Linked DNA regions of Homo sapiens: all the other regions are linked to region 1. The links are contacts of gene promoters, found by promoter capture Hi-C in blood cells and fetal thymus (Javierre and others, 2016). All regions are on one chromosome and are shown on one strand. The core of a region is centred on a gene start or on the middle of the fragment in contact, and the rest is flanking DNA. Distances in the headings are between cores, read along the strand shown.

Region 1 (3,572 bases), core at 383-2,882:
ATCTTCCTCCAAAGAAAGATGCTGAAAGGCCTGCGATCTGGAAGCAGAGCCATCCCAGAACAACAGCAATGGCTCTCTACTTAGGGAAGGGACTTCATTTGAAGTTAAGGAAACTGAGGCCCAGAGAGGGGAAGGGGCTTGCCCCAGGTTCACAGTAAGTCAGTGCTAGAGTTGGCCCCTCAGTTCCTGCCCACCCTGGGTCTGGGTCAAAGCTCTGCTCCTGCCTGACTGCACATCCAACTGAGTAAGCATGGGACAAGATGCTAGAATGCTGTGGGTCAGAGTGGGATAGGGAGATGCAGAGGAGGGGCCAATGATGTGGCCAATCAGCTCTGGAGTAAGGTAGGGAGAGGGGCAGCCTAGATAGGAGGAAGGAGGTGCAGACGCCCCCTCCCTCTTGTTTCCAGAGCCGATGTATGCAGGCCTGCCGTCCTAATCCTGGTTGTTCCCAGTCCCTCCTCCCCTTCCACCTATTGTCTCTGCTCAGACTTCCTTCCTGTCCCTCCAGCCCTGGCCGCCTCCACATCCTGCCTGCTTTGGTCAGGCTGCCGGGAGAGCCCTAACCAGTCCTAATGTGTGGGGTCCCGGCCCTGGGTGGAGGCTAATTGAAGAATAAGGATGGGGATGCCAGAGAGATGAGGCCTGACCTCTGGTCAGGGGTACTCCAGAGGCTTCTGGACTCTCTGCCCACCGGCAGCATGTTCACATGCTGTTCACCTGTGTGTGCACATGCCCTGTAGCGATTTGGCAGTGTGAAATGCCATCCCCCCACCTCTGCTTTCTCCAAGCCTTCCTTTTCTGAGCTTGCCTTTTCCCTGCTCATTCCCTTGGGCTCAGGTCTCTGTGCTCTGTCCCCCTTCCACCAGCCTGACCCCGACCCTGACCCTGGTCTATTTCATAGACCTGTCTCTAATTCTGTGGCCCCTGAGTTTTATCTCTGCCTTGTCACTGTCCCTGCCCCATTCCATCTCAACCTCTCAATTCTTCTTTGTCCCTCTCCTTGTCCCACCCTGTTTTGCTCTCTGTTATTAAGCTTGTCCTTGACTCAGTCTACAATTCTAACCAGATCTTGAGTTGTATCTGTGTCTCTGTCTGCCTCTGAGCCTGGGTTTCTGTCTTCCGCCTCGGCCTAGGCTCTCTCCCTGTTACTCTTGTGCTCTGTCGGTGACCAGGACGCCCTCTCCGTCCCAGCATCACTGCTGGCCTCCCTCTGCCTCTCTCCAGCTGGGCCTCATTCCCAAGCCAGGGCCCGCGTGCTGAGCCTCGGGCCCTGACTCAGGGCCCGGTTTCCCGGTGACTCAGGCCGGGCTCGACAGCACGGGGCTGGGAGCTGAGGTGCTCGCGGGACAGGAGTGGCGGGGGCGGGGCGGGCAGTGGCGGGCAGCGCAGGCTGCGACGAGGGAGGGGGCGAGGAGGGATGGGGCAGAGGCCGGGCAGCAGGAGGGAGGGGCGGGTCGTGGCAGGGATGGGGAGGGCCGCCGGCGCCGAGGGGGCCTGGGAGCCCACGAAGGCCCTCGAGAAGGTGATGGGGAGGAGTCTGGGAAGCAGGGACCCGGGGGGCGCGGGGGTCCTCACCTCACTACGCGGCCGCCGTCCGCTCGCGGGTGCCCGCCGCTCGTCCGAGGTTCTGGGTCCCGCCGCGCCGGCCCCGCCTCCCCTCTGCCCTCCCTCGACGGGCCCAGCCCCGCCCCGCCCGGCCGGTTCCCTCCGCGGGGCCCCGGCCACTCCTTGTGCAAGCGCAGGCCTCCAAAGGGTTTGGGCTTCTTGCCCAACCGCCGCGCTTATCTCCGAGTCTGCCCCCAGTCTGCCCTCTCGCAGGCCGAGAAAGGACCAGAACACGTTGGGACGAAGACAACCTCAGGGAGAGGGACAAAGAGGCAGAGACCGGGACGGAGACTGGGACGGAGGTAGAAACTGAGAAAGGGAGAGTGCCAGGGACGGCTTTGCATCCTCTCCGCTGCTCCCATGCCCTCCAGTCCTGCCAAAAGGGAGGAGGAAAGGTCGAGCCCTAATCCCCCAGGGCACCTCTCCCACGCCCGGAAGGGTGGCTGGACCCTGGCAACCAGTTTAGTGTGGGGACGGAAGCTGGACATCCAGAATTGAGACTTGGCCTGGGCAACAAGCGCAGAGGCCCAGCAGAGGGGTACCCGTCTGTTTCTCCCCACTTCCATCCCCAAGGGCCCGGCCTAGGTTCCTTCGAGGGATGAAGGTCCGCAAGGCACATCCCTACTTCCAAACCAAGGTTTGGGGCTGCCTTTTTGGGACAGGCGGACGCCCTGCAAGCTCAGTGACCAAGCAAGCAGCTGTTTCATTCATGGGAGAAGCCGCCCCTTCTCCCCAACTCCCACCCTAAAATTTCAGGGGGGATGCCGGGGAGGCCTGAAGAGGAATGGCCCTTCTCTCCTTCGCTAATCTTGCCGGAACCCCGGTCCTGGAGCCTGTCTCCCAGGGGCGGAGGCACTTCCCTCTCTGAGCAGGACCAGTGTTTGGGTGTGGGGGGGGGGTGTTTGTGTGTGTGTGTGTGTGTGTGTGTGTGTGTGTGTGTGTGTGTGTGTGTGTGTATGTGTTGGGGGTGGCGGGGGCGCTGGCCGGCTGTGTTTTCCTGTTTGTATGAGAGGAAGTTGGCTGTGAGTCAGCAGACACAGGAACTGTCAGTAGCTAGGGGAAGACCCCTGCCTCAGGGGAAGAAGAGGGGAGTGGGAGGAAGTGGTTCCCACCTCTTCCAGCTGCCTCAGCTAGGGGAGGGACTGTCATCTTCAACCTACTGGAGCCCCACTTTCCCGGCCTTCCCTTTGAGAAAGAGAATTATAGTAATAAAATAATAATTGCAATAGCCATAATAAGGGCTACCAATTATTGAGAGCTGACCGTGCTCCAGGATCTATGTAAACATTGCTTTGCAAACTTTAATCCTCACAAATATCCCTACAAATAGGAAATTTTATCACCTCTATTTTACATATAAGGAGACAGGGAGCATTAAATAACTTGCTCAAGACTCTGCAGCTAGAAAATAGCCAACCCTCCAAGTCTATATCTATAACTACCATGCTCACCTACCACCCTGGACAGGACCCCTGCACCATGTCCTTTTTTTCAGATGGGCAACTGTGGTGGCAGTGAGAATGCTCCTCACAGATCTTACACTGTGAGGAGTGAAATTAACCAATGGCCCCAGCTGCTTCTCTCTGAAATCTAAGGCCAGCTTCCCACTGGGCTGCTCCCAGCCAGTGACAGAGCTCAGCAGAGATCTAAGGCAGACCCATTCCTGGGAGATAGGGGACTCCTTTGACAGCTGACTTTGGATCAAGATTTCCCAATGGCTTTGCTGAACTTTCCTTTGACTGGTGTTTTAGGATGCTCCTCTCAACCTTTATTCCTTCCCTCTCTCCTTCACAGCTCTCCTAGCTCCAGGCTCCCTTCCTCTCTCACAGGCATCTCCCCTAGTCAAATCCTTGCATTCTGCCTTGGCAGCTTCTTCTTTAAGGACTCAGACTAACCCAGCAAAATAAGGGAGCAGGAAAAGACAGTAAAGGGCACAGGGAGTTTTGAGGAATGGATGCCGGGGAGTT
Region 2 (3,572 bases), core at 661-3,160, 460 kb after region 1:
GGTGTTTTGTCTTGCAGAGCTCTGTGCAGAGCTCCCAAGCTGGCTGCTCTTGAGCTATAGTTAGCCTATAGTTTATTTGTTCCACAGTTATTTTTCAAGTTTTTTTAAATTAGTTGCCAACATTTTAAAAATCAAAATTATTTCACATAAAACGCCTGAATGTTTTTACTTTTCTTGAAAGTTGGAATATCAAGAAAAGCTAGCCTACATTTCACATGGCACCCTTTGGCTGGAGCTGAGTTGTTGCTGTCTCCTCCATACAGGTCATGTGCCTTCCAGTTCAGTAAGATCCCACCACCATACCCCAACTTAGTATTTGAAGGGGTAACCCCTGCTCAATAGTCACTTGTTGCTTTGGGTCCCAAACAGAATGATGTTCCCCAAGCTCAGAGCTGACAGCTCTTGGTTACTGCTAAAAATCAGTTCAACTGTCCAAGTACCATTTTCTACCACTGAGTATCCCAGTAAAAGTATTTAAAAAAAAAAATGTGCTAAAGGCTCAGAGACCATCTCTGAAAGAGGAAGGCCAGGAGGAGTATCTGAGTTTCCACTGGAGGGGCATATCACCTCTCTGCTGACAGTTTTAGGAGGTACAAACTTTTGTGAATGTATAGATTCTGGTGTAGTCACACAAAAAGAGTCTTACTAAGAATAGAGAAATAGGCTGGGTACAGTGGTTGACACCTATAATCCCAACTCTTTGGGAGGCTGAGACAGGAGAATCACTTGAGCCTAGGAGTTGAAGGCCAGCCTGAGCAACATAGCGAGACCCCTATCTCTACAGAAAATTAAAAAATTAGCTGGGCATGAACCTGTTATCTTAGCTACTTGGGAAGCAGAGGCAGGAGGATCATCTGGGCCCAGGAATTCAAGCTTGCAGAGGCTGTGATCATACCGCTGCACTCCAGCCTGGGCAACAGAGCAAGACCCTGTCTGTTAATAATAATAATAATAATAATAATAATAATAATAGTAGACAAAGTTTCAAGTTGAGACGATGAGAATTGCTGTAATAGATAAGGGGATCCTGACATCTAGTGGACAACATTATATACTGTCGACAGAAAAAACAGCCCATGACAAGGAAGGTTACATTTTTTCTTTTTACTTGAGAAAAACACAGTTATAACCTCTTTTTGTTGTTGTTGTTGTTGTTGTTGTTTGGAGTTCATTATCTTGGAATGCTTTTTTGGAACTCAATAGGTAGATTTTGATGTTTCTCAATGAGGCTTTCATATGTAAATGTTTGGCTCCATCTTATTTTTTATTTCCTTTTTAGACCAATTCAATTCTGAATGTGCAAAAGACACTATTGACTCTTACATTATACCTTCTCATTGAAGGATGGATAATTTGGTATGAAAATCCTCTGCAGATTCTGGAGGAAATTGCTAATGTTTTGATTACCTTTAGCAGAAAAATAACAATGTATCGCTATCAGGAGAGGGATTTCTGGGGAGGGGACTTAACATGGAAATTATAAATTCATTCATGACTTTTCTTTTTTAAATTAGGCTTTCTCCTGTTTCTCAGAGGATTTATCAATTATGCAAAAGTTCGGAAGATGCCAGAAACTTTCTCAAATCTCCCCAGGACCAGAGTTCTCTTTATTTATTAAAGGTATTAAAGAAAAAATTTATTCTAGTCCCAGTGTAACCATGTGCTACATTGTAGATTTCTGTTCAGTTTTAGAGTAAGTATCTGTGATAGGGGCATATAGAGAAAGTAAAGAAGGCACAGTCCCTGCCTTTTAGCAGTTTCTTGTCTAGTAACAGGGATTTTTACAAAAAGCTATTGATAAAGTCAAATTAGAAAAACTGCCATAGGAGAAATCATTACTTCATGCTTTGACAGTGTGAAAGAGGCAGGGGTCTTAGCAGTCATCAGAAAGCTGGGATATTTGGCTGCTTGACTGAATTCCAGCATCCTGAAGCCACTGCTTACTGTTGCACCAGTTCCAGAGGATGACATTCAGAAGGAACCCTTCAGGCCTAATCACTCATCTCTGCCCCTAAATCCCAGAACCTGGAGAGACTGTGTAGTACTTTAAGAACTCCTTTTGTCTGGGCTGCTGACAAGCCCACCAAGTCTTCCATCTTTTAAAATTGTCATTGAGGCTTTCCCCATGGCTTTCTTCAGGTTGACATTCTGATACCACTCTAATGTGAGGAAGGTCAAACTCAAGAAAAGAGGAGAAAGGACCTTTTCCCTTGCCTAGAACAGGAGGACTAAGCCCTGCCAAGGCTCTTTGATTCACACATGATTTTCCCCAGAGGCTGACACTCCATCTTACATCAATGGCTGCCTGAAGGAAGAGGTAGAGAATCTTGAGAAAGAGTACACCAGAGAGAGCTCTCTGTGGTAGCAAGTTCTAATAGGCTTTCTTGGACTTGGCTGTTTGTTCCTTGGGGCTTTGGGGACTGTGTTAATCATAGAGTGGAACCTTGAGCACCACCTAGAGGCCAGTCCAGTTGAAGGTCTTAGGCAAAGCATTATAAAGGATAGGTGGTGTAGTTCAGATAAACTTTACATGATAGTGGAGAGTGTGGGGAAGAATTTCAGAATCATCTGAGGCAGAGTGAAGAGCAAAAATAGGGAAGTATGGGGCTTGTTCAGAGGATAGCAGCTTGATTGGGGCATAAAGGAGTATTGAGGGTCAAGGCTAAAAAGTCAGGTTGAAACAAGTTTCTCAGATACCTTGAGCACCAAGCCCATTTGCAGTAGAACCATGAAATTGATAGAGCCAGCGACATGTTGGGTCAATGCAAGACTAAGCCCACGTGGAGCACGAATTTGTTCTGTACTCGCAGAGTGTCAGTTTATATAGGCAATCATATACTAATCGTGAGGTTCTCAATTTTGAAGACTTGTGGTGGTCTCAGGAGGTATGCTTCAAGAAAATAAAGCATCTACCATAGTTGATTTTCCAGGTGATAGAACAGCATTGAAAGCTTTTAGGCAACAGAATCATATAATGAGACCCTCTTGAATATAACAAACATTTTTTCAAGCATAGTATAGTAAACTAAAATTAACACTCATGGAGTTTTCCATGTGTCAGATAATATATTAAGCATTTTACATGGATAATTAAATGTATGTAGGTAAAGAAGGCTTAAACTGCTTTTAAAGTTAGTTTCATTATTAAAAAAACTAGTATTCATTATTAAAAAACAGGAATCTTTGATTGCATGTCTGAAAATGTGTAGCATGTCATGAATTTGAATTCAGTCACACAGTCTGGACACAGATGGATATTCATACCACTGGCCTGGGCCTTAATGCCTACAATGTGTCTTTGTTTATGTCTAGAACATAAGAGACTTATTAGATATTCTTTGCAGTTTTATTTAGTTACCATTGTCATCTTTCATCTATATATCAGATTGGAATTTATAGTTAGCCTTAGGTTTAACTTTTACCTATCAAGGATTCCAAAGCTAGTACTGTTGGGTTGCTACAAGTCCTCCTTATGAAGGGTGCTGAAATCACCTAATATTTTCCCTCTAATACATTGACACCCAAGATATACTGAGGGGACAGATTTCTTTCTCTTTTTAAAAAAAGTCATC
Region 3 (3,572 bases), core at 664-3,163, 450 kb after region 1:
AATGAGAGCTTTAAAAATTGCATTTTAAGGTAAAAGTTTTAGCAATTAACTCTAAGATAGAAGTAGTAAATAACATTCAAAACTAGAGTTCAAGCATTGACCCAGAATTTTCTGATATTTATTTTTAATAACTTAAAGAAGGGACTTGAAACTTACAAGAATTTTCTTGCTGTTTAAATATGACCAAACCAAGAAAAAATTAAGTAGTGAAAATACTTGCAACTTTATGGACTTACTGGATACTTCAGCATTATTTTTCACGTGCTTTGTTTGTTTGTTTGTATGAATTCTGAGGTGTATGTTGATACCTTTTCTCATATATAAGGATTTATGGGTTTTGTTTAGTGTAGGGTTTTTTGTTGTTCTCTCATTCTTAGTAAATATAGATAATCCAAGAATGACTTTTAAGTGCCTTTAGGTCCTGCCATTTGCTACAGTTATAAATGTTGCCCCTTGCTTAGCCCTAATCCTAGCCCCAGCTCTGCTATTGCTTAAAAACAACTCATTTTAGAACTGCTTAGTGAGGAGGGCGGTGGTGAAGCTTTCTTGCTGATTGGGAACTCAAATAATAGTTTAAATCTGTAGGGTATAATGTCTTAAACGTGTTAAATTCAAGTTTGTTTCTATTAGAATTAGAACTATATATGATTTCTGTGTTGGAGATTCATAAAAATGTCATATTTATTTTTAATAACAATAGGACCTAGATACAGAGGAAGGTGATAAGGAGGGAAAAAAAAACGCTCTATTTTATTTTATTTATTTATTTATTTTTGAGACAGAATCTCACTTTGTCGCCCAGGCTGAAGTGCAGTGGCTTGATCTCAGCTTACTGTAACCTCCACCTCCCCGGATCAAGTGATTCTCGTGCCTAAGCCTCCCGAGTAGTTGGGACTACAGGTGCATGCCACCACACCTGGTTGATTTTTGTATTTTTAGTAGAGACGAGATTTTACCATGTTGGCCAGGCTGGTCTCAAACTCCTGACCTCAAGTGATCCGCCCACCTCAGCCTCCCAAAGTGCTGGGATTACAGGTGTGACTTGAGAACAAAACCTTAGTAGCACCTATTTGTAAATAAATGTTTTCTTAAAATTGAAGGTCATCAAGGCCAAAGGCACCATGGCAGATTGTGACATATCTGAAGTAGGAAGAGTTTTAGGGTTCTTCTGGGGAGCCATTCTAGTCTGCTCAGCACATAGAAGGGAGCAAAGGTAATCAGGAAAAGAGTAATGGCACACTCTGGGTGTGAGAAAGTGAAAGGTCATCTGAATTCTCAGGTGATTGGATTATTTATTTCTTAGCGATGGAGGCATAGGTAGTTATAGGTAGTTCTGTATTAAACTCTACTTTGTATGGCCTGTGTAGGTAATTGTATAGCTGTATTTGGAAAAAATGCCATTTAAATCATATTTCAGCCGGGTATGGTGGCTCACGCCTATAATCCCAGCGCTTTGGGAGGCTGAGGCAGGCGGATCACTTGAGGTCAGGAGTTTGGTACCAACCTGGCCAACATGGCACAACCCCATCTCTACTAAAAATACAAAAATTAGCCAGGTATGGTGGTGCATGCCTGTAATCCCAACTACTTGGGAGGCTGAGGCGGAAGAATCACTTGAACCCAGGAGGCAGAGGTTGCAGTGAGCCAAGATGGTACCACTGCACTCCAGCCTGGGTGACAGAGTGAGATTCTGTCTCAAAAAAATAAATCATATTTGAAGTTTAGTAAAATTGGTCAGAAATTATATGACAGGAAAAAAAATCCAGTGTCCAACAGCTATTTATTATCTATCACAGTCACTCAAAGGATATCCCCCCTACCCTTGCCCAACATCTCTGTGCACTGAGAGCAGAAGTTCCCAGATCTGTCCCAGTTTTCAGATCTGTCTCTCTGAGTATCCCCTACAACCCAGATTCTGTGACAGTTAAATTGGACTCGGGCTTCCACTGACCCAGTTGATGGAAGAGACTGAGCATCTTTCCAACTCTAACCCAAACGTGACAATGCCGCGTATTCTTTCAGAAAGTGTCAGGAAAGAGCCCGAAGATCCCTGAGCTCCAGGGACATGGCAGGGAGGCTGCACAGAAGGGTTCCCAGGGGTGGAAAAGGGGAATCTTAAAAATAAATTTTGGAACCAAGTAATCAATTTTATAGCACACTCTAGTTCTAGCGCACATGGTTCCTCCACTTGTTAGTGAATGCCTGACTTGTTGCCCCTGAAGTGTAAAAAGATGTATATTTAAGGATTCCATTGTTCAGCAAGTTATTATGCATGCAGATGGCAGGCACTAAGTGCTTACTCTTTTTGAAGGTGATTGCCTCTCCCCGCGATCCCCCTACATTGCAGTGTTTTGTTTTAAACAGCTTTCTTGATGGAGCCTAATCTTATCACCAGCATTATAGAAATAAGCCAGAGTGAGAAGCCTGTACAGTGAGGTCTTGGGATTATACCATAGTCATAATGGTGTTTTAAATTGTTTTTATTTTTCAATTGAAAAAAGTACACTATTCTAAAGTAGTGAATTTTAGTGGAGCAAACTCTTCACCTGGAAGTGTTTTTTTCCTTACCAAAGTGAAAATTGGTGGTTCTAAGAAGGCTGGAATTTATTTGCACTGTCATCTTTTACTATGGTGGGGGATGATCAAATTTAACATTTCCAAGTTTCCAGGAGACAGGCAGCCTATCTTATAAATATTGTCATAGAAGACCTCTTAACCTCTTTGTTCTTTGGATTTCTGTATTTCTTAGAATTGTCATGCTTCCTTTCTGAGACCTAAATTATGCAGGGGTAACGTGATTACTTTGACACCAAGCTCAGGAAATATAAAACGGGTTAAGTATAAACCAAGCTAGGTTTAAATGAAGTTCATTACTGGCTACAGTATATTAAGGGAACATATTCGAAAAGTCTGTATTTGCCTTTGTTCTTGCTGCTGACTCTTCTGCTTCTTTTGGTGACCTTCCCACAGCACAAGAGTGGTTAGGTGTGAGGAGGCTAAGAATACCTTGCCAAGAGCTTCAAATAATGTTAAAACCAGTATTTTAGGTGAACCATGGTCCCAAGAACTCTATTTAAGTAATTCCTAGTTCGGTGTCCCAGGAGCATTTGGCTTTACTGCACCTATTTTGGCCACATGTCTTTGTTTAAAAGGAAAAATTATCTTAGGTTATAATACAGCTATTTTGGGAGTACCTTAAGTTTAACATTAGATTACTAGGATTCGAAAAAATGTACCCAGATGGTAGATGCTGATGAGAATTTGACACAAGAATTCATTTGAAATTGAAGCTTTTGTAGTATTAGTCAGAAAAATTTATTGACATCTGGTTTTGAACAGCATAGTGAGTGGAGATTGAGATGATCAGTTAAAATTTAATGGATTGTGGCCGGGCACAATGGCTCACGCCTGTAATTCCAGCACTTTGGGAGGCTAAGGCAGGCATATCACCTGAGGTCGGGAGTTTGAGACGAGCCTGGCCCACGTCTACTAAAAATACAAAAATTAGCCAGGTCTGGTGGCATACGCCTGTAGTCCCAGCTACTTGGAGTCTGAGGCAACAGAATTGCTTG
Region 4 (3,572 bases), core at 534-3,033, 430 kb after region 1:
GTAAATGTAGACAATCTGGACAAAGAAGTCTGGATTTCTACTTTCCACTGCTGACATTTTAAAAAATTTCAAATTAGATTTTTGCACCCTTTATACAAGACTACATGGCAGGACATTATGTTTGATTCACTGTACCTGATTACATTTAAATGTTGTTTTTCTGGATTATAAACAACAACTGAGGGACAGAGTAAGGAGGCTCTAAATAGACTTGAGAGCTTGGAATGTTGCTACATTTGTTCGCTCTCCCAGCATGTTAATATGTGAGACTAATACTTGGAAATAGCGACAGATATAGAGGAGTTTGGATGCTGAGAGAGAACTCAAAGTGAAGATGGTAAACATCTAGAGTTTTTATTGATTACAATTTTCTCATATATACAGAAACCTCAGGGTGTGTTCTAAACACAGTTCTCTTTTAAAATACATAATTAACTAAACTTCAAAATTAGAAGCTAAGACAATAATCATATTAATATAACCTCTACACTGCCAACTTGGAAAGGCAATGAAGAAGAAATGGGAATTGCAACAAGCTTCAGAGATGGAAGATTTTGTTTTTCTCTGTAGGACATGTGGGTAGAAGCAATTGCAGATGGCTGGGTGTGAAAGAAACAGACCTTGCAAGCCTGCTATATAGCTATACTGTGCTACATGGCATTGGGAGGTAATAAGATTTAAAAGACAAATACTCTTGTCTTCACAAAGCTTATAATTTAGTTGTGCAATACTGGGTAAGAAAGCTGGCTTAATGGAGTTGTATTCCAGCTTCACCCCTTAGTAGCTCTGTGTCATTGGGTGAGATATTTAATTTCTTTGGGCATAACTTCCTCATCTGTGAAACACTGATAATTGTATCTCCTATATGGCAGCTATGCCAGCCTCCTTTCTGTTCTTCCACAAGACAATCTCTCTCTGGACCGCCCTTTGCACCTGTTCCTGTGGTCGGGAAAGCCTTTAGCATGGCCAAACCCTTCAAGTTTTGACTTCATGTCACCGAGTCAGGGAGCTTTTTTGGAAAATATTGTTTCCGATTCCGCAGATGAGGCTGTTAAAATACTAAAGGATGGCATAAACATGAGGATGCTATTATAATCATCCACCCTAAGTAGGATTTGAGATCCAAGCAGTTCTCAAGGATTTAGGGTTAGCAAACTTTTTCTGTAAAATGTCAGATAGCAAGTATTATAGGGTTTGCAGGCCATACCAAACAAATGGGTGCTGCTGTGTTCCAATAAAACTTTATTTATGGACACTGAAACTTGAATTTCATGTACTTTTCACAGTCATGGTGGCAGACCGGATTTGGCCCCCTCCCTGTCGCTGGCTGACCCCTGGTTTATGAGTACGGCAGATAAAAGAAGGGAGTGAATAAGAACCACGATTCTGCTGCCAGACACGAGGGATCAGGTCGCTGCTGTGAAGATTGTCAACCTCTCTGGTTGCCAACGACCTCGAGAATGGGGTTGTGGTCCCTGCGTCAGGGCGGTTGTGCTGAAGGCTGGATGAGGGCACGTAGGTGAAGCTCAGTGCTTGGCACGAGGTGCTCATCAGCAGCATCGCCCTTGCTTTGGGCTGGCCTGTTAGTAATTCGTTTTTAGTGGAATCGAATACAACACTTGAGCCTCGGAGGCTCAGGTCGTCGGAGCAACTACACCAGGGCCGGTGCACCTCGGGGCGGCGGCGCAGGACTAGGCTAGGCCGGGCCGGGCCGGGCAGGGCGGCGCGAGTCGGGGGTGGGGCGGCGGCGCAGCGCCGTCGTCGTAGTCCCCGCCTCTTCCCCAGGGGCCGCGTCGGAGCCTCGGCGGCGGCGGCGGTGCTTACAGCCTGAGAAGAGCGTCTCGCCCGGGAGCGGCGGCGGCCATCGAGACCCACCCAAGGCGCGTCCCCCTCGGCCTCCCAGCGCTCCCAAGCCGCAGCGGCCGCGCCCCTTCAGCTAGCTCGCTCGCTCGCTCTGCTTCCCTGCTGCCGGCTGCGCCATGGCGTTGGCGTTGGCGGCGCTGGCGGCGGTCGAGCCGGCCTGCGGCAGCCGGTACCAGCAGGTAAGCGGCGCCCGACTCCAGCCCCGAACTCCGGTCCCTGGCTCTGCCCTGCCCGCTGGCCGCCTCAGGCCTCTCTGGCCGGCCCGCGGCCAACTCGACGCCGGGGCTTGGCAGGCCGCGCTGGGCCTGGAGGGGCGGGTCGGGCCCCGGGCTCGGATTCGAGGCTGCCACGGGCCCGGCCTGCCCGTCTGCGACCCCAGGTGGGACTCCGGCGGTGGAAAGTCCTCCTCCCGGCCTCGTTTCCCGCATTTCCCAGGGCGGGCGGGTCCCTGAGTCAGAACCCGCGACCCACAGGCGGCATCGATCTGAGGCATTCGTTTTTCATTTTTCCACCTTTGGTTTGATGTCATTGGAAAAGAAAGAAAGAAAAAAGCATGAAACGGAAACTGGGTGGAGAGAAAAGATTAAAATCTCTGCTGCTGCCGATAGCTCCCCACAGCAAGATGCTATTGCTCAGGGTTTCAGAGCCTAGTTTGTCGAAACCCATCCCCCTCGCCTCCGTTTTAAGACAAAAGTAAAAAATGAAGCAAGAGACAAGCCCGCAGTTTGCAGTAGATTTGGAAGAGGCGATGTTTGGCTGTGGTGATGCCCCAAAAGGGAGAGCTACGATGAAGTCTGCAGGGCGTGTGCCGGGTGTATTTTAAATGCTTGGAAGTGACGTTTTAAGAGATTTGATGGCATAGCTGGGGAGGAAATGTATAGGAAATGATTGGATCATTTTCTCGGGTTTGATTTAATACATTGAGGCCCCAGGGAAAAGAGCTGCTTGTTTCACTCCGCGTCTGTAGCTAAGTTCCCCCAGGAAATTTAGAGACCTTCTGCAGGGTTTTTGGAAGTGTTAATCTAACATACAGTAATGGTGGGAATTGAGCCAGGTGGTAAACTGATGTTGATTGGAACCGCAAATAACGGCTTGTGTTTGTCATGTTTCAGATGCTTTCGGTGCATACAGATGTCAATCCTCCTTTTATCAAATAAAATGTCCTATCTTAGACGATCTACAATTTTATATTTTAGAAGTAAGGAAAGCCAGCCAGTACGATGAAAACGTAGATTAACCCTGGTGCGGCCGGCCGGTTACTGGTTTGTTTTGCTATCATCAGCCATGTGTTGCAATCCGTCCCCACTCAGGCTTGGACTCCCAAAATGACTAGTTAAGAATTTCACTTCTTGGTTTTATAAACACGGCCCAAATTGTGGCAATGCAGTTAATCCTTAGATCTCTTCAGAGCACATGGATCTAGCACATGCTTTTTTTCTATGACCTTGGGCAGCCTGCGGGTTCCTTACTGCTTTAATAAAATGGGAATAACAGATGCCACTTAACTGTCACCACAGTGTTTGCAAATCACCCCTACTGTATACTGTCATCTGATTTCATCCTTTTCATCCTGACTTGGATAAGGCTAACGAGCAAAAGAGCTGTGGTTTTTCTTTGTACTGCCATCTTCTTGAGCTATTAGGTAATGCTGACATACTGCTAGAATATAAAAAATTTGCTGGAGTATCAAAATCATGTATTCCTTAGTG
Region 5 (3,572 bases), core at 1,073-3,572, 300 kb after region 1:
AAAAGCTCAGCCTGTGCAACATGGCGAAACCCAATTTCTACAAAAAATACAAAAATTAGCCAAGTGTGGTGGTGCGTCCCTGTAATCCCAGATACTTGGGAGGCTGAGGTGGGAGGATCACTTGAGCCTGGGTGGCAGAGATTGCAGTGAGCCAAGACTGAGCCACTGCACTCCAGCCTGGGTGACAGACAGAGACCCTGTCTCAAAAAAAAAAAAAAAAGAAAAAGACAAAAGATGTCAGAGTTGCTGACCTCAAGGAATAGCTCATTAGTTTTTCTCTTTGGATCATACAGTTTTCATTTCCCCATCCACCAATCTAATCTTTTAAGTGAGAGTACTTTCACAAACTAGAGCTTATGGTTTAAAAGCAAAATTAAACCTTAAAAAGGATAACACAGGTAGAATAAAAAGGAGTATTACTTTACATTCTAATGTCTGTGCCAGAGGCAACAGATGCAAGACAGTTGATTTGTCCAGGAATATCAAGACTGTTTGGCATTTAGGCCACTGATAGTTGGCTTAATTATTTAGATCTTCATAGTCCTATTTCACCAGAGAGCTTTTCATACTTTACATCCACGCATGTGCGTGCATGCACGTGCATGCACACACACGCACAAAACAGGGACAGATTAACTGGATGCGTGGTTGTGGTTTCAGATTCCAGCCAACCAGCATCTACTTAATGCTGGATTTGGGGGCGGAGGTGTGTGCTGGGGAAGAGAGTTGTTTTATGTGTTACAGCTAAAATTACAGTAGAATTCTTAATCAAATAAATGTTTATGCATATAATTAACATTTTAATTGGTCTCTTATATTCCTTCTTGGTTCAGTTCTTGTTTGTTGCTGTACCCTGATTCCTTGGCATTATGACTCTCACCTGTTAATGGTGAAATTGACACATAGAGCTGTCATTCCCTGAATTGGGGCGGGTAGACAGAGGGAAGTGGTTTTAGTTTTCTAAAACCTTATTCCTTATTCCTCCCCCAATATACTTACACAGTCTCTTTCCCGTCCCCCTTCCATTTACATGCATTCCAGCTGCCTTTCTCTCTCTTTTTTTTTTTTTTTTTTTTTTTTTTTTTTGAGATGGAGTCTTGCTCTGTCACCCAGGCTGGAGCACAGGGGCACAATCTCAGCTCACTACAACCTCTGCCTAGTGGGTTCAAGTGGTTGTCCTGCCTCAGCCTCCCAAGTAGCTGGGAATACAGGCGCCCGCCACCACACCTGGCTAATTTTTTGTATTTTTTAGTAGAGACAGGGTTTCACCATGTTGGCCAGGCTGATCACCAACCCCTGACCTCAGGTGATCCACCCGCCTTGGCCTCCCAGAGTTCTGGGATTACAGGCATGAGCCACCACGCCCAGCCCCAGCTGCCTCTCTTGAGAAGGGACTGGGGTAGAAAAGAGGTTGGAGAATGGCTTCTTCATAGGACTTGGTAGCTCACACAGCACTCATAGCTTCCCTTTTAGTATTTATCACATTTTACAGATGTTAGCAGATTTCTCAAAAGCATGGTTGATTTATAAGGATATTTATGCAAATGTGAAAAATCATTAGTTGTTCAATCTTAACTCATCAATAAGTATTTAAGGTAGTACCTATGCAGGGTTTAGTCAGTGGCACTACACAGAGTGTAAGAAACAGAAAATCTGGTCCCTTTTCATTTGTCATTTAAATTTACAAAATTTGTTTGCCATCTGGAAGGCATATTTTTGGATGTTTACCTAAAAAAGAAAAGCTGCTTATAATTCCTGTGCTCTAGTTAAAAATATTTTATATTTCTAATGGAAAATTCTCCAACATTTGCCTTTCAAATTGAACAGACCACTTTTAAAGAGGAAAATTCCAAATAATTTAATTTTGGTTGCTTAGCTTAGGAAGTGTAAGCTTTCTCTATGGCTGCCAAACCTTGCTGAGGGCTTGTGATTAGGACCAGGGTCAATATCAGGCAGCTTCCCTCCATTAACCAGGATCTGATATAAGCCCAGATTGCTTACTTAAAAGCAGCTTGTAAATCTGAACAAGGACTCTGAGGTTGAATTCTGTTAGTGATTGTTTCAGATGAGTTGACTTTTTGATAAAACTGAAAGAATTAATTTTAAAACTTGGATAGTATTTTTAAACTATTCTTTTTCTAACCATTATTCTAGGATACGAACAGGGCTAGGACTCCTAATGGAAGAAAAATAGTTTATTTTTAGAACTAGATCTCTTTGTCCTACATGAGGTATATGGCAGTACTAAAAGATTAAAGAACAGAAAAAAGTCTTCCATTTCAGTGGCTAAAATGTACAGCTATTTCTCTACCTTACGGAGTCTTGCTATTTCTCTTCTTCTCGTGGTACTTCTTGCTTCTGACTTTATGTTCTACTCTGGCTCATGTTGCCGAATAGTTTAAGAAGTGCTCCAGTAAGAATGTTTGTACTGTTTTGTATGTAGCACAGTGTATCACAGCAGTAAAAAATAGTGTTAGAATAAGGGCCTAACTTGCAAGTGGAAAAGATTTCTAGGGAAACCAGGAGTTGGCAGCAGCATCATCTTTCCAAACTCACCAACATCTTCATGTGTTTTCTCCTAGCTATCTGCTCTATGCAAGCACTTAGACAACCTATGGGAAGAACACCGTGGCAGCGTGGTCCTGTTTGCCTGGATGCAATTTCTTAAGGAAGAGACCCTAGCATACTTGAATATTGTCTCTCCTTTTGAGCTCAAGATTGGTTCTCAGAAAAAAGTGCAGAGAAGGACAGCTCAAGCTTCTCCCAACACAGAGCTAGATTTTGGAGGAGCTGCTGGATCTGATGTAGACCAAGAGGAAATTGTGGATGAGAGAGCAGTGCAGGATGTGGAATCACTGTCAAATCTGATCCAGGAAATCTTGGACTTTGATCAAGCTCAGCAGATAAAATGCTTTAATAGTAAATTGTTCCTGTGCAGTATCTGTTTCTGTGAGAAGCTGGGTAGTGAATGCATGTACTTCTTGGAGTGCAGGCATGTGTACTGCAAAGCCTGTCTGAAGGACTACTTTGAAATCCAGATCAGAGATGGCCAGGTTCAATGCCTCAACTGCCCAGAACCAAAGTGCCCTTCGGTGGCCACTCCTGGTCAGGTAACTGTTTACCCTGCTGATGGTTGCCTCCTAATTCTCTTCCATAAATGGAGATATCATCTCAGGAACTTCCTTGATAGGGCTCATGGGGCAGTCCGAGGCCTTGGAGCCAGCCCACAAGTTGTTTTGCTGTATCCATTAAAAATGCTATGGTCTTAGTCTACTGCTTAAGCAAATGGAATGCTTCCTTTGGCCTTGCAGTGGGCAAGGATGAGTGTTAAAGTAGTTATTAAGTAATTGTGATAATTTACTTTGTATATCTGCTAGTAGGATCCCATAAACCTTGGGGAATCACTAGCTTATTCTTGTGTGAGGTTGGCATCTGAAGGGGACGTCTCTTAGAATGATTAACCAACTTTTTTATAGACTTCAGCAGAAGTACAGCCTACTTAGGTGGTGGTGGTGTTGTTGTTGTTGTTGTTGTTGTTGTTTTGTTTGAGATGGAGTCTTGCTGTGTCACCC
Region 6 (3,572 bases), core at 294-2,793, 280 kb after region 1:
TCCCCTCCCTTTCATCTATGTCTTTCCCCCTTCCTCCAATTCTTCTCTCCCCAGTTTTGTTTATAAGAGTCCCGTGAAGCACATCTCCTTTGCTGCCCCCAACTCTCCTTTTAGATGTTTTAAGGGATACCCTATCTTCCACTCACCTCCTCATAAGGTGAAATTCAGGAAGGAAGGAGGTGAATGAGCAGTTTGCTTGGGTGGGCTTTGAGGTGGCCTTATTGCTTCTTATTGTGCCCTTCAGTTTGCTGCCCCCAACATTCTCCCAGCCTTATACCCACTTCAAGGTTGATCCCTGAGGCTCATGAAGCATTTGAGGTGATGAGAATGAACGCCAGCTTCCCTAGATGGGTGTTTGCTACTAAGCCCTTGGGGCCAGAGATGCCATGTTTGGACCCAAGTGGCACTAGTCAGGGCTTATTGGCATGGAGGCCTGTGGTCATCAGGACTGGGGTGGCTAAGGGACAGTCACCTGCACTCCTTCCCTTTCTCTCTGGCTTTTCTTTCCCTTAACTCCATATCCCACTCCTGAGGTTTCCCAACTATTTCACTGAAACCCATTAAACCATAGCAAGGGGCCTGAATCCAGGGCCACCTCCTACAGCATGGCCCTGGAGACAGACAGGCCACTCACAAGCTCTGAGACACTGCACAAGGGACTTAACCTCTCCTAGCCTCTGTTTCCTTCTCTGAGGGCTGTCATCGATCTCACAAGGTGGGGTAAGGACTCAGCACAGGGCCTGGCTCAGAGAAAGCACTCAGCACATAAGGACTATGATTTTGCTGTTTATTATCTTCCAAGTTTTATGCCTCATACGCAAATGGCAAAGATGGCCTTGCATTTGTCCCTTCACTTTTTTCTTTGCCTCTTTGGCAGGAATCCCATTTCTCAGGTCTCCCTCAGCTTGGTGTGGGCAAGGTGCTGCCTAAGCTACTAGGAGCCCCTGGGAGCTCAGGGACACAAGGGTGCCCATTGCCCCCTGCTGGCAGCCCACGTGACAGTCTCACTATCCGCCCCGCAATCGTCCCCCTGTGTGCCTGACAGTGAACAAGGCAAGGGGCTGACAGTCGCAGGTGGGGGCAGGGAAAATGAAAGGCGAGAGGCCAGTAGAATGGCTCTGGAATCAGGCCTGGGGGTCCGGGAGGCTCCTCATGGAGGGCACACGCTGAATCCTGACGGACCTGGAGGAGTGAGCCCGAGGAAGTTGAATAGGCAGGAGACAGGCAAAGCTGGTGGCAGGGGCAAAATGGGCAAAGGCCCCGAAGTGGGCAGGCTGGCTCCTGGCTGTGCTGCAAGAGGGTCAGTGCAGTAGTGTAGGGAGGAAGGTTGGGCAGGGGACATAAGCAGGGGTCCTCAGATGATGCAGTGGCCTGGGTTCCCATGGCTAAGAATTTAGACCTTGTCCTGAAGGTCGTGGAGTGCTTTTGAAAAGCTCTACGCAGGATAATGAGAACAGCGACCACATGCCAGGCCTTGTCCTAAGTGCTTTACCTACATCCTCTCATGACGCACTCACAGCCATACCATCACATTGAAGATGCTGAGCACACAGCGTTAGGTAACTTGCCCAAGATCACACAGATGTGCCCTCCAGAAAGGCCTTTTGGCTGCACCCTGGAAAATGGCTTGGAAGGGAACAGAGAAGAGGGAGGGAGCCTAGTTGAGAGTAATGCAGGGGAGCTTTGATGCAGAAAACTCGTTTCCAGAGCGCCATCTGGTGGCCAAAGGCAGAGAAAACGGCACAGAGGCAGGGACCGGGGACAGCCACGAAAACAGGAAGTGGGTGCCTGGGGTTCATAAATATCCACAGCTCCAGCCCCGTGCTACACAGAAGAATACAACAGGAGAAGCTACTCACTGATGACAATAGTATCTCTTAATGGAAAACCTAACGTGGACCAAGGCCACAGAAGGAGTTATGGAATTCATGATAATTTTACTTGTGTTAACATTTATATTCTTCAGAGGACATTGTTTTATCTATATATATTTTACATGCAGTTATATATCTGTTGGGTGTGTGTGTGTGTGTGTCTGTGTTTTGACTGGGAATGTGAATGCAAAAAAATGATGCATAGGTCGCAAGAAAGTTTGAATTTAGATTTCATAGGTGGTTTTTATTGTTTGTTTTATTCACACTGGGGACATGAAGCTAAGATTACCCTTTGAGATTTCAAAGCTGGCAAACAAGGCCCCAGACTTTTTTAAGGTGATCACCTCTGGAAATGAGGTCCCCATTTAGCAATTTTCTCTCCTCCTTCTGGCTGCAGGGGTCAGCTGATCTTTAGCAGTCAAATGCCAAGGGGTGAATGGAGCTGTCACTAGAGTTCGTCTGGAAAGGCGACGTTTTCCTGAGTTTTGAAAATAGGTTTGAAGGAGTGGAGGTACTCTGAAATAGGTTTGAAACAATTGAGGACAGCCTCCCTTAAGTCCAAAATATTTTTTTTAAAAGGGCAGGATTAGGGTTTGTGCTTGAAGGCCTCACTAACCACCAAACTTGGGGTTGTTCACACTTGGGTTCTTAACCACAGGGAGGGCTGAGGGGTGAAGTGGGAAGGGTGGGGGTTCAGAGAATCTTCTTAAAACACCTGGAGTCCTAAGGAACCTTGAGGGGTCAGACTAGTAAGGTGTGACTCTGACCCTTGGAGGACTCCCAGGCCAGCTGAATGAAGGCTGAGATCACACCTCGCCCCTACGAATGTCCCGCTGGGCTGGCTGCCCCACTTCCAGGGCTCTGGTCTTCCAGGCTTTCTCCTCGTGAATCTCCCCTGTGGTTGCCACAGCATCACCACCAAGACAGCTTTGGGGAAGCCAAGAAGCATCCTCCGGCTTATCCCAGGTAGGGAGGTGGTTGGACCGTCCAAGCTCAGCGTCTTTTTTCAGGAAGATCTTGTTGAAGTTAGATTCCTAGTCAGACCAGGAATCTTGACTGGGAGACTCAGGTAGATGTTCTGGGTTATCTGCTCCTAGCAGGGCACTTTGTGGACTTTGTTGAGACAGATGACAGGTGCTGTCTCCCACACAATGGCACCTGTTTCTGGGGTCAGTGCAGAAAAAAGAATGCACTTTGCAGGGAGAAATTTGCCAAGAAATAGGACCTTTCAAGAAATGAAAAAGCTTTATGTCTTGGTTAACAGCGGCAGTTCTCAAAAGGGTCCAGATATCGAAGTCACTTGGAAAGCTTTACAAAATACCAGGGACAGGGCAAGAAAATTCATACTTTTCCCTTTCCCAGAATACTGCCAAAGAATAGTCTGTAATTGCCAGCTCAGTTCCGCACCCTTCATTTGGGACAGGGTTGGGGAATTTGATTGGACCTTTTTGCTGGAAAGAGAGGCTAAGTTGATTTACGTGATAAAAATAAATAGACGGGAGGAGGGAGATTTCTGCAATCTGAGAAAATTCTGGAGAGCAATACAGCAGACAACAGCAGAGGCTGTGAAGGAGGTAGAATGAAGATGAAAAGGACTTTTGAATTCGTTATTGCAAATTATAGACCTCCTTCATGATTTTCAAGAAAAATACAAGAAAAGATTTGTATGTTCTTTTCCAAATTTATTTTGTGCGTTAG
Region 7 (3,572 bases), core at 281-2,780, 260 kb after region 1:
CTGAGCTGCCTCCAGGCTCTGAGTGAGCACTGCATTGCACTCCTGGTGCTGGAGAACGGCTGACTATTGATTTAAAAAATGTCCCTCTATGCTTTCCAAATTAGGACGACATGTAACAGTGCTTGCTGGCTCGCCTGCTCCCTCAGTCTCCCAGGGGACAGAGCCCATCTTGGTGGAAACTGTTTTGAGCGTGTCCAAAGTCTCAGCTTTGACATCTTGGCTGATGTCAAGAAATTTCTGTAACCTTCCTGTTCAACACACCCAGTTCTGTTACCATAGACACGGTCTCACTCTGAGCTGTTATTGGGAAAGGTGCTGGTATCAGCTCATCAGGAGGGGACACATGGTGCAGGAGAGAACACTGTCCCTCACGTACATACACCCCCATTCTGATCAAAGTTCAGAACAGGAGCAGCTCTACGCAGGAGTTCTCCAGGTTCTGCAGGGAAGGCAGGGCTGAGGGCTGACCTAGAGGATTGTAGTGCTTTCTAATCTTAATTGGGCCCGAAATCTCTTTGAGAATCTGATCTAAGCACCTACTTCTTTCCATAGAAAAAATGCATATCCTCCCAATTTTGCATGTAGTTCAGTAGGTTCATAGATCCTGAAGTCTAACCAAAGACGTCAGATTAAGAATCCTTGATGTATTAAAAAGACCACCATACTAAATCCCAGATCCAAATCCTGATTTGAGCAAGCACTCAGTTAAATGTCTTAATTTGGAAAGCTCTCCCCCACAAACCTGCCAGGTGGCCTTGGGCAAGTCATCTGCCGTTTCTTTCTATATTCTTGGCTATAAAATGAAGAGTTGAAATAGATAAAGTTCAGACTCTTTATGACAACTGCCCATGTCTGTGGATGTTTAGATAGTATCTTAAAGCAATGCTGTGTAACCTTTTAAAGGTCAAGGTTTCCTTTGAGAATCTGATGAGAATTTTGTATCTTCTGCCTAAAAAAGTGTCTAGACACAAAGTTTTACCTAGTATTCAGGGTGCCCAAGGAGTACAGATTTAGGGCTTTTGAACTAGAATGATGCAATGGTCCCATGTGTCTAGTGATCCAGTTGCCAGCTATAGCTCCAGCTTCCTCAGGTCATCTCCCCCTGCCCACTCTCTTCTCTCCACCCTCCCAACATCTGCTCTGCACTGAAAATCTGCTGGTAACTGGGAGGTCACCATGGTCTACTCCAGTACTGTGGTTCTCAGACTTTGCTTTTACATCACAGAGTCTTTTTTTCTAATGAAGTCCTACCTGGAGCTCCAATATGGATAAAAGGGGCCTCTGAAGCATTTATTGACACATTTATTCATTCATACATCCATTCAACAGCTATTCATCAAGTGTTGCTTTGTAGCAGGCACCTGGCTGGTCAGGCTGGAGACCCTGCCTGCCTGCTTGATATCCCCCAGTTTCTCTCACTGGCCCACAGAACCCAACAGTTCTGTGATCCAGCCTGAAAATCACAGATTCTGTAAGGAGATCACTCTGGCCTAGAGTGAGGTGAGGAGAAACTCTGCCCCTGAAACTCATAACTTTGGGGAGCCTCATTTTCTTCATCTGTAAAATGGAATAATGATACCACACTGTATTCCAAGTATGTATGATGCACATTATCCCTAGTTGGGAGTATGATTGGCCCATTTCTTGAACAGTGAACATGAGCACTGAGCTCCAAGAAAGGACAAAAAGAGGAGCAGATAGAGGAACTTTTGCCTGCAGTGTCCAGGAGAGACCCACACTATTTAGAAGCTAGCTGATTGGCTGCTCGGAAATTTCCAAGAAAATTATAAAGCTGAACCTTGGGAAAATATCTGCTGTTTCTTCCCTCCCCCATCCCCTGGAAGGCTGGCTGCTGTCAGTGCCGATTTCATAGACCCAGTTCACACAGCGTCCTCTGGGATTCACAAGCCTGAACCTGCAATGACAGAGGAAGGTTTACCCGCAAATGGGGTTGGGAAAGATGACATCCGCACTTGAAGAGCTACTTGTTGGGAAAGAACGGGTCTGCATCAGTTCAGATCCAAGTTCCTTTTGCCTTGTGCTTGGGAATGTAGAGAGGTGCGGGCCTGGATGGCTTTGGAAATGTTCCTTTCAACAGTGTTTCCCGAGGGAGCTCGAGCAAGTTCACTGCTGCCAACAGCTCACCTCCAGGGCCTTCCCTTCTCCTGTCTTTGGTTGGCAGGCTGGTGTCAAGGTTGAAGGCATGGGTTTTGGTGTTGGCCCAGCCTGGGTCCAAATCCTGGCTCTGGCTCTACTCCCTGCTTGATCTTGGGAAAGCCACTTGACCTCTCCAAGCCCCATATCCGTGTCTGTGAAATGGGGTTAATAATACCTCCCTCCCAGGATTGTTGGAAAATCAAATTAAATCCTATTGTAAAGCCTGGTGCCTGGCTCATGTAAATGCTTTATAAATAGTTGTGCTTTCTTAGCTCTAATTTTGCAGCTGAGAAGCAGATTAGTTGGTAACATAGTGATAGGGGAACAGGGGTAAGAGCACACATGTCTGCTATTTGTGTACCTGTTACTGTGTACCAAGGTGCCCCACTCCTGTCCAGGCCCAGTGTGACGGTCTTGCCAGGGATTGGATGACAAATAAACCCCACTCTATTACTCTTCCCTTCTCCCTCTTGACAGGTGCAAACAGGAGAATGAATCACTGCTTTTCCTTTATTGATAGGTCAGAGAGCATTTCCTGGCACCCCCAGGGTACAGCCCCCTGACTCCTGCTACCCAAGAAGGCCACCCTTTCCTGCCTGTGATACTCCGTGGCATCTGTTCTGCCAGAGGACTGACCCTTTGTGCTCCACATATGTTTTGCCAGGAAACACTTATCTCAGCCACAAACCGTCCCTGTCCTCCAAAAGACTCAGAGCTGCTTACAAGGGGCTGCTTTGGTCAGTCAGCTGTTAGTCCTGGGGCTCTTGCCTCCTCTGTGGGGGTAGCATCAGTCACCCTAAAGTTCTCAGGCCGCCGCTAGCTAGTGAGTTACAAGATTTTAGAAACCAGCTCTTGTCCACAGATCCTCAGGCCCCTGGTTCTTGGATCCAGAGGCGTCTGAGGTATGTTCACAGGCACCTGCTGCTGCTGCTGCTGCCTCTGCTCTTGCCCTCAGTCCCCGTCTTTCCACCTGGGTCCCCTTGCACTTTCATGCCTGAGGCTGCACTGGTGGCCAAGTCTAAACTGAGGGTCCTCCCGCAGACCGAGAGCCGCCGCAGCGCCTCGGAGGCGGCCTCCACGGGCATGCTGGAGCGCTGTTCCAGCAGCATCTCCAGCAGTGAGCTCATCTCCGAGACAAAGGTGCTGGCCAGCCTCGTGCCTGTTGGGCTCAGCTCTGGTGCCTCTGCCTTGCCGAACGTCTGGAAGGTCCTTGGCTCCTCCGTGGCTGCAGCATCCGGGGAGATCACATTGTCACGGTAGTTGGTGGTGAGGGGCAAAGAGAGTCTCGCCATCCAGGCCGGGTCAGGGGCGCTCAGCCGGTCCAGGGCCAGACCTGTGGGGGAAGGAGGGGACACAGTGAGGGCCAGGCTCCGGGAAGGGCCAGGCGGGTGAGGGTGGGGCAATGAGCAGGGCAA

Evidence for each region. Contacts are between HindIII fragments. The CHiCAGO score rates a contact against its expected background, and 5 or more counts as called.
Region 2: a contact is called between a fragment that was not itself captured here and the fragment with the promoter of ARAP3 in region 1, in 5 of 17 cell types (total B cells, naive B cells, total CD8 T cells and 2 more). The highest score is 7.9, in total B cells.
Region 3: a contact is called between a fragment that was not itself captured here and the fragment with the promoter of ARAP3 in region 1, in 3 of 17 cell types (fetal thymus, total CD8 T cells and megakaryocytes). The highest score is 5.9, in fetal thymus.
Region 4: a contact is called between the fragment with the promoter of NDFIP1 here and the fragment with the promoter of ARAP3 in region 1, in 2 of 17 cell types (megakaryocytes and total CD8 T cells). The highest score is 7.5, in megakaryocytes.
Region 5: a contact is called between a fragment that was not itself captured here and the fragment with the promoter of ARAP3 in region 1, in 6 of 17 cell types (endothelial precursors, M2 macrophages, naive B cells and 3 more). The highest score is 7.0, in endothelial precursors.
Region 6: a fragment that was not itself captured here is called in contact with the fragment with the promoter of ARAP3 in region 1 in 17 of 17 cell types (endothelial precursors, activated CD4 T cells, megakaryocytes and 14 more); the score reaches 20.2 in endothelial precursors.
Region 7: a contact is called between a fragment that was not itself captured here and the fragment with the promoter of ARAP3 in region 1, in 16 of 17 cell types (endothelial precursors, activated CD4 T cells, fetal thymus and 13 more). The highest score is 9.5, in endothelial precursors.

The regions. Positions count from the first base shown.
Region 1 is chr5:141,680,598-141,684,169 of GRCh38, forward strand. It overlaps ARAP3 (ArfGAP with RhoGAP domain, ankyrin repeat and PH domain 3), which reads right to left and starts at 1,633. Exons shown (of 33, transcript NM_022481.6): 1 at 1,576-1,633. RefSeq lists a silencer at 1,633-1,682. The HindIII fragment of the contact is 6,366 bases long and covers 1,032-3,572 here.
Region 2 is chr5:142,143,057-142,146,628 of GRCh38, forward strand. It overlaps NDFIP1 (Nedd4 family interacting protein 1), which reads left to right. Exons shown (of 8, transcript NM_030571.4): 7 at 1,515-1,620. The coding sequence ends at 1,618. Among named protein-coding and RNA genes, the nearest start is that of NDFIP1, 36 kb to the left of the region's middle. RefSeq lists an enhancer at 2,322-2,411. The HindIII fragment of the contact is 2,078 bases long and covers 872-2,949 here.
Region 3 is chr5:142,126,259-142,129,830 of GRCh38, forward strand. The region is part of intron 1 of NDFIP1 (Nedd4 family interacting protein 1); the gene reads left to right. Among named protein-coding and RNA genes, the nearest start is that of NDFIP1, 19 kb to the left of the region's middle. The HindIII fragment of the contact is 2,749 bases long and covers 540-3,288 here.
Region 4 is chr5:142,106,996-142,110,567 of GRCh38, forward strand. NDFIP1 (Nedd4 family interacting protein 1) reads left to right here and starts at 1,784. Exons shown (of 8, transcript NM_030571.4): 1 at 1,784-2,042. The coding sequence starts at 1,980. RefSeq lists an enhancer at 1,535-2,036 and silencers at 1,614-1,883, 1,944-2,073, 2,144-2,213. The HindIII fragment of the contact is 16,858 bases long and covers 707-3,572 here.
Region 5 is chr5:141,975,721-141,979,292 of GRCh38, forward strand. RNF14 (ring finger protein 14) reads left to right here. Exons shown (of 9, transcript NM_004290.5): 5 at 2,583-3,110. Among named protein-coding and RNA genes, the nearest start is that of RNF14, 8.4 kb to the left of the region's middle. The HindIII fragment of the contact is 866 bases long and covers 1,890-2,755 here.
Region 6 is chr5:141,959,189-141,962,760 of GRCh38, forward strand. LOC124901095 (a long non-coding RNA gene) reads right to left here. Exons shown (of 3, transcript XR_007058977.1): 3 at 3,359-3,437. It also overlaps a transcript of RNF14 not described here. Among named protein-coding and RNA genes, the nearest start is that of PCDH12, 2.8 kb to the left of the region's middle. The HindIII fragment of the contact is 3,146 bases long and covers 1-3,116 here.
Region 7 is chr5:141,942,316-141,945,887 of GRCh38, forward strand. It overlaps PCDH12 (protocadherin 12), which reads right to left. Exons shown (of 4, transcript NM_016580.4): 4 at 1,266-3,490. The coding sequence ends at 3,066. Among named protein-coding and RNA genes, the nearest start is that of PCDH12, 14 kb to the right of the region's middle. The HindIII fragment of the contact is 7,155 bases long and covers 1-3,572 here.